Linked DNA regions of Homo sapiens: region 1 is linked to region 2. The links are contacts of gene promoters, found by promoter capture Hi-C in human tissues and cell types (Jung and others, 2019). All regions are on one chromosome and are shown on one strand. The core of a region is centred on a gene start or on the middle of the fragment in contact, and the rest is flanking DNA. Distances in the headings are between cores, read along the strand shown. Region 1 overlaps PHACTR1 (phosphatase and actin regulator 1). Region 2 holds the start of PHACTR1 (phosphatase and actin regulator 1).

Region 1 (3,244 bases), core at 369-2,868, 85 kb before region 2:
TGTCTCCCAGGGACACTTGTCAATGTCTGAAGAAATTTTTTTGTTTGTCACAACTGGGAATGCCCTGCTACTGGCATCTGGTCTGTAGAGGCCAGAGATGCTGCTAAATAACCTGCAAGGCACGAGGCAGCTCCACTCCTTCACCAAATAATTATCCCGCCCAAAATGTCAATAGTGCCAAAGTTGAGAAACTCTAGATTACAGCACAGTTTAGAGGAATTTAGAAAAAAGAAATAGTTGCATTCCTGATATGTGTGGCTTTGTTTGGTAAGAATAAACAGGAATGTTTCTTTGTCCTATTTATTCAAGTACATTTTACACTCTAAGAGTGCAAGAAGTATAGTGTAAGGTGAGGCTGCTTGAGAGTAGCATGGTTTTGGCACGTTTTTGTGACCCTTAATTTCCTCTTCTTCCTTTCGGGAGGCCCAATCTGCTGTAGAGTGTTCTTTAGTCTTCCTCACCTTCCCTAATATGTCTCCTCCTCCTTTTCTGTGAGGGGCTGTGGACTCAGTCAGAGGACTGGAGCAGGTGCAAGGATGAGAGGGGAAGAAGTGAAAAAGAGAGACCACCAATCTCAGTCCTGCCACAGCCTCCTCTCAGCTTTTGGCTCAAGGGTGCCAGAGATCTGTGAATTATTGAACGCAGCGGGGTTGACACATAGAACTTTCAAACAAGAGAACCTGTCAAGAAGTGACACAATAATAGGACCAAGTAGAAGCAGTGCACAGTTCTTGAGCAGTGCACAGATAAGACAGTGTGGCTTGTCAGCAGATCACAGTTTAACACACAAGCTTTGAAAGGGGAAAAGTTATGGCAGCCTGGAATTTTAACACACGTGTTCACCTTCATCATATCATGGAAGGTGGCTCCTCTACAAAGCCACATATATTAGCTATCTTCACATAGGGTTTTTATCTTGCCACTTTTGTCATTCAAGAGTAAGGAATACACTGAATTGATTTTCTTTTAAAATGGGAAACCAAACTCAAAACTTGCAGTCACTTTTAAAACGTCTTCTCTCGGAATAAAATGATAGAGACGAGAATCTTGGGTGCCAAGGGGCTTTCCATCAAGATCGTAAACACTGAGCTTAGAGAGGTAATCCATTCCTATGGAGTTAAGCTTAAAATTTTATATTTTATAGATTCCAAATTCACAGTTGTAAAAACATTTTAGCATTTAAGAAATCAGAATGTATCTTGTACTTGATGGGATAAAAAAGCATTGCGTCATAGTTTAATTGGTTTTCTCTTTTTTGGTGGCAGAGAAAATAATGGTACATCCTACGGTTGATGGCATTTTAGATTCAGTATAATAAAGAAAATACATTCCACATTTCTTAGAATCACTCTGATCTGGCAGGTCATCTCTAATTGCTCCTCTTCTGATACTTGTATATACATCATTTTTCTTGTTTTAATTTGTTCCTGTTCTGCTTTTATTTTAGCCTAATTATATATTCCATTTGCCTGCACACAAAAATGACTAATTTTGTGTGTAGCTTTTTGTTCCTAAGACTGTTCCTTTTTCTTTTACGTTATAGTAAATTGCCAATGAGGAGTATGAACTTATAAGAACTAAGAAATAATTGTTTTATTCAATAAGTTATTATGTTGGAAAAAGAAAAGCATAGGTGGAAGTCAGATCTACTCATCACCTTTGGCATTAACTGGCTATTAATGCCAGTTATATTTATATGCCCTTTAAGTCATAGGAAAATTGAGCTACATATTATTTTATATAATAAAGTACATTTATTATATAAAATAAAATTATTTTATATAATATGTAGCTCAATTTTCCTATGACTTAAAGGGCATATAAATTCAAAGGGTTATGTAAGGTTTAATGATCACACCAAACCTATGCAATTTTCTAAATTTGAATCAGATGAGGCCACCAATATAAGTAATGGTAAACAAGGTCATCAAAAGACAATGTCTGACAATTTATTTAGTCACTCCTCGGAAACCTAATTCCTGATTCCTATGAGTAAAGGCATTAGCTGAAATGTTGCAAGAGGACCTCAAATTCTAGGAATCTAACATATTGGAGAAGAACTGAGGCAGAGATTCTTCTTTGCTCAATAAAGCTATATTAAATAATTCTCATTTGCAGACAGTTTTTCTTGCTTTTTATGTCAAGCTTTCTCAGCTTAATTTAGCCTCATTAATTCCAACCAAATCTCCAGATGATCTCTAAGATGCCTTACAGCTTTAAAATCCCAAGATTCTACTAAATGCTTCCTTCCTAAACTTCTACAGACTTCTTAGCTCCTTCTCTGCAATTAATTCCTCCCCCTTCTGCCATCCATACCCCGTCATAGTCTATCAGCCAAGCAGTGAGAATATTCTGTTCTTTTTTATTTTTATTCTTATGTGTGAACCCTTATAATCACTTTCATGGCCCCTTATGAACTTGCTCTAGTTTGCCTACATTCTTTTGATAATGAGATGGCCAAGCCATACATAGTTGGGTAGTGAAGTACTGACAACATTTTGCTCAAGCAAGTATGTGGCAACAATGCTGCTGGGCAGACTAGGAGGCACGTGGCCACTGTTGACCATCTCACTAACTTAACACGCACAATGAGGCTTTATCAACAAGTTAGATGGTGTTCTTCTATGATTCATTTGCAACGACCTTTTCAGCCTTTTTATAATACATTCCCCCTTCTACATTATTATCAAAATATATTAACATGCTCTAAATCTTTGTCCAAGTTACTTCACCAATACAAATGATTAATTTAAGGCACATATCATTACATCTATTTTCAGCATTATTATCTTGAGAACAAAAATCAAAGGCCCTAAAGAATCCCAGTAAATAATTACCATATACTGTACTGTTTTCCCAATAACTTCATGTTATTTAAAAAATTATTAAACTCAAAAATGTATTGGCATAATTCACCATTTAGAAAATGAACTAATCAAATTGGCTTTTTATCTTCCTTCTTTTTTTTTTCTTTTTCTTTTGAGACAGGGTCTCACTGTGACACCCAGGCTGGAGTACAGTGGCAGGATCAGGGCTCACTGTAGCCTTGGACCTCCAGGGCTCAGGTGATCCTCCGACCTCAGCCTCCCAAAGAGCTGGGACTACAGGCACATGCTACCAGTCTGTGCTAAATTTTATTTTACTTTTGTAGAGCTGGGGTTTCACTATGTTGCCCAGGCTGGTCTTGAACTCCTGTCCTCAAGCAATCTGTCCTCCTTGGCCTCCCATAGTACTGGGATTACAG
Region 2 (3,296 bases), core at 343-2,842:
ATAGCGTCATTAAGTGTCAGCCGTTGTGAGTGTTGATCCTCAGCTCATCCTGGGACTTTCGGATTCCCCTGGAGCAGGGAAAATTGCCTGGGAATCCGAGCCTCCACTCATAGATGCCGTGCGTTTATGACACACACTGACATATTTGCTGTACAAATGCTTTGAATTCCTTCCTTTCCGGCGATTCCCTTCAGCACATTTTATAAAGTGCTAGAGGATCGTCACCTGCCTGTGCCTGGCAGGGGCTGATTTTTGAGAAACAATTGTGGTTTGTAGAGCAGCAAGAATGATTGCAGCATTACAGTGATCCCTATATTATCATACACTAGCCTGTCACAAAGCTAATATACTTCCCCAGAAAACATTCAGCCTGTTGGGTTCTTTTTTCAAGCCTATGTAGCCTTTCCCTGATACTCACACAAATGAATTATCTCTATTTCTGCAGAATATTTTTTTGGAAAGAATTAACAAGACAAAGTCATTAAAACCAAGCTTGGAAGTCTAATCCAATTGGTTTCTCTTTCTAACAGTATGTATTTTAATTTAAGAAACCAAGTCCGGTAAGACAAAACTTTTAAAAATACCCAAAGGTACCCCAATAGCAAATATACTTACTGCAAAAAATAAAAATCAAAGGCTATCTGTCAGCGGTAAAACAAGAGCCGTTCCAGCCAGAGTGTCTTTGATCTTGCTAAATATTCCCGGTGAAAGTAAACGATTTTGATTGTTTGATTAGAACAGTGATGAATAATGCATACAGTCCACTGGACTTCCTTTATCAGATAAAATGGCCAGAGCACGTTACCTTAGCAACGGAAGGTGACGCCAGCCTCAGCCTCTGCACCCTCCCCTGCGAAGGGAGAAAATTACCAGTTTCCCGTGTAAAACTTTGGCAGAAAATCATCAAATCCACATGCATACATCATGCAGGGCTATTCCCCAGCCCCCTATCTCTTAGGCAGAGAAGTGCCATAGTCATTAAAAAAAAAACAAAACAGATTTATGTCTTCATTGTTTATTTTCATAATCCCAAATCTTAGTTTGATTTGCAGCTACAAAAGAATAGAATATGAAATGATTAAAAATTTAATATATAGAAAAGTTGTCTAGAAATTTTTGTGGGGGCACCAGTTATTACCCTAATGCTGGCCTAAGAGTGGCAGGGAATGGGGGAGTTTAGGGAAAGGCCATTTTAGCTTAACATACGTTAGACATTCCCCTGTTATAATTAATACACAGAACAGCCACCGGCATCTAGGCTGAAAATAACTCTTCCCTTCTGCAAATCAGTCACTGGAAGAAGCTTAAAAAGCTGTCTGAAATTTCCCAGATTCTGAAAGACATATTATAGCATAGATTTTGTGGGAGATCCCCACTCCCCCCACAACCCCCATCCCCGGCAAAGGAAAATTAGCCAAAAAGATATTTGAAAGGAAGAGTCTGGAAGTTAGCGGATACTCACCGGCACTTGTTGACCCCTTTCAACAGGACACGGTAGAGTACAAAACAAAGCAGTGCGACGCTTCTGAGCCCGCAAGCACAAATGAACAGCTTCTAATTTTCCCTTCAATCTCGCTTCAAGAGCACTGAGCAGAGGGAAGTGATGGATTTGCCCATTTATACTGTGATGAAATGCAACCCTTAAGAAGAGATCTGAGTGGAGCTGCTCTTTAGAACACATTAGACTGCTAATTTAAGAAAATTGAAAGGTTTTGTTTTACTGTCTTTTATGTGTTCTTCTCTGCTACCCCCTCAATTTAATTTGCATTTAAAATTATTCTCATGTCTCCTCAGCTCTCCAAGGTGTGGAGTACTTTCTAATCATGAAGGCTGCTCCAGTAGGGTTTGGTGCAACACCACTTTTATGCTGAGCTGCAAAACAAGGCAGGTAGTCATAATTGTGAGCTGTTTTCTGGAGCGAAATACAGAGGGCACGTTTGATGTCACCCCTTCCCTCTTGCCTGGCTTTCTTCCTTTCCTTGCTTCTGATTGCCTGGTCAAATATCCAGCGCAGATCATGCCAGTCTGCCTAAATGCATTTCTCTCTGTCTGAATGTAACAAAATAATACCAACAACAAAAATAAACTTTGGCTAGTATCTCAAGTTATTCTGGTTTAATATTCTTCCTACCAAACCTCAGTAATGACTTTTAGGCACAGTACTTTGAGATCTTCATGCAGGGCATAGTGATAGCCAAATGCAAGCCCTACTGTGGGTTTTCCACAACCTCTTGCACCCTTTGTTGACCAAGCAGAATTGCTCATTAGTATGGTGTGGTGTACAGTGGGTCAGCTTGTTAAGAAAAGAGCATTTACATTTGATAAGCCTCGGAAGGAAGACCATCAACACCACCCCTGTCCCCCCACTCCCTATACACAGCTCGGCTGGCTGCCCTTGAAACAAACCTGAAAATCCTCTGCTGTTTGTTTTGTGGGGTCTCCCTCTCCCACCCGATCAGAACAGATCAGACACCAAGCCGGTGCTGCAGACAGTTAAGCCTCATGAAAAAGGAAGCTGAAACTACCAATCATATGCCCTTGTAGGAAAGTCAACTATGGACTCTGAATTCTGAAAGCTTTGCTCCAACCCAAGGACTGACTTCTTTAAGGTTACTTTTCTATTCAGCACCCACTGGAGACATGCTGAACACTTGACATTTATAAGAGGAGAAAGCTGTCTTCTGGTTCCTTTTACTTACTGTGAGGTGTGGGCGACAGGTTCTGAACTCGTTATTGTAATTCTACTGAAATTGTAATGACTCATAGATGAGAGAAAGAGAGAGAGAGAGAGTATAAGTCTATGCTGCTGACCAAACCTTTAGGTGAGTGCAAATGAATGTGTGATTGAAGAAAGAGATGCTAAACTGGAAATGTGAAAAATAGAGTTGATTCCCAGGGGGTAGGTGGTGGATTTGGAAGTCAGTCATTTCTGGAGAGTTGACCAAGAAAGAGAAATTTAAAATACTTTACAAAGTGAACAAATAATATGAAAGGGTCGTAATTTAAGAAAACTCAGGAGGGAAAATTTCAACTTAAAGAAATGTATTTGGGGCCGGGCACAGAGGCTCATGTCTGTAATCCCAGCACTATGGGAAGTCAAGGTGGGTGGATCACCTGAGGTTAGGAGTTCAAGACCAGCCTGGCCAACATGGTGAAACCCCATCTCTACTAAAAATATAAAAAATTAGCCAGGCATGGTGTTGGGTACCTGTAATTCCAGCTACTTGGGAGGCTGAACAGGAGAATCGCTTGAACCTGGGAGGTGGAGGTTGCAGTGAGCTGAGATCATGCCATTG

Evidence for each region. The method cuts DNA at HindIII sites, captures the fragments that hold promoters and counts their contacts. A contact is called where the count stands out against the background at its distance.
Region 1: a contact is called between a fragment that was not itself captured here and the fragment with the promoter of PHACTR1 in region 2, in 3 of the 25 tissues and cell types used here (dorsolateral prefrontal cortex, hippocampus and spleen).

What each region holds. Positions count from the first base shown.
Region 1 is chr6:12,800,626-12,803,869 of GRCh38, reverse strand. The region is part of intron 4 of PHACTR1 (phosphatase and actin regulator 1); the gene reads right to left. Among named protein-coding and RNA genes, the nearest start is that of PHACTR1, 85 kb to the right of the region's middle. The HindIII fragment of the contact is 4,540 bases long and covers 1-3,244 here.
Region 2 is chr6:12,715,063-12,718,358 of GRCh38, reverse strand. PHACTR1 (phosphatase and actin regulator 1) reads right to left here and starts at 1,592. Exons shown (of 15, transcript NM_030948.6): 1 at 1,463-1,592; 2 at 616-850. The region is part of intron 1 of LOC107984015 (a long non-coding RNA gene); the gene reads left to right. The HindIII fragment of the contact is 3,467 bases long and covers 1-1,940 here.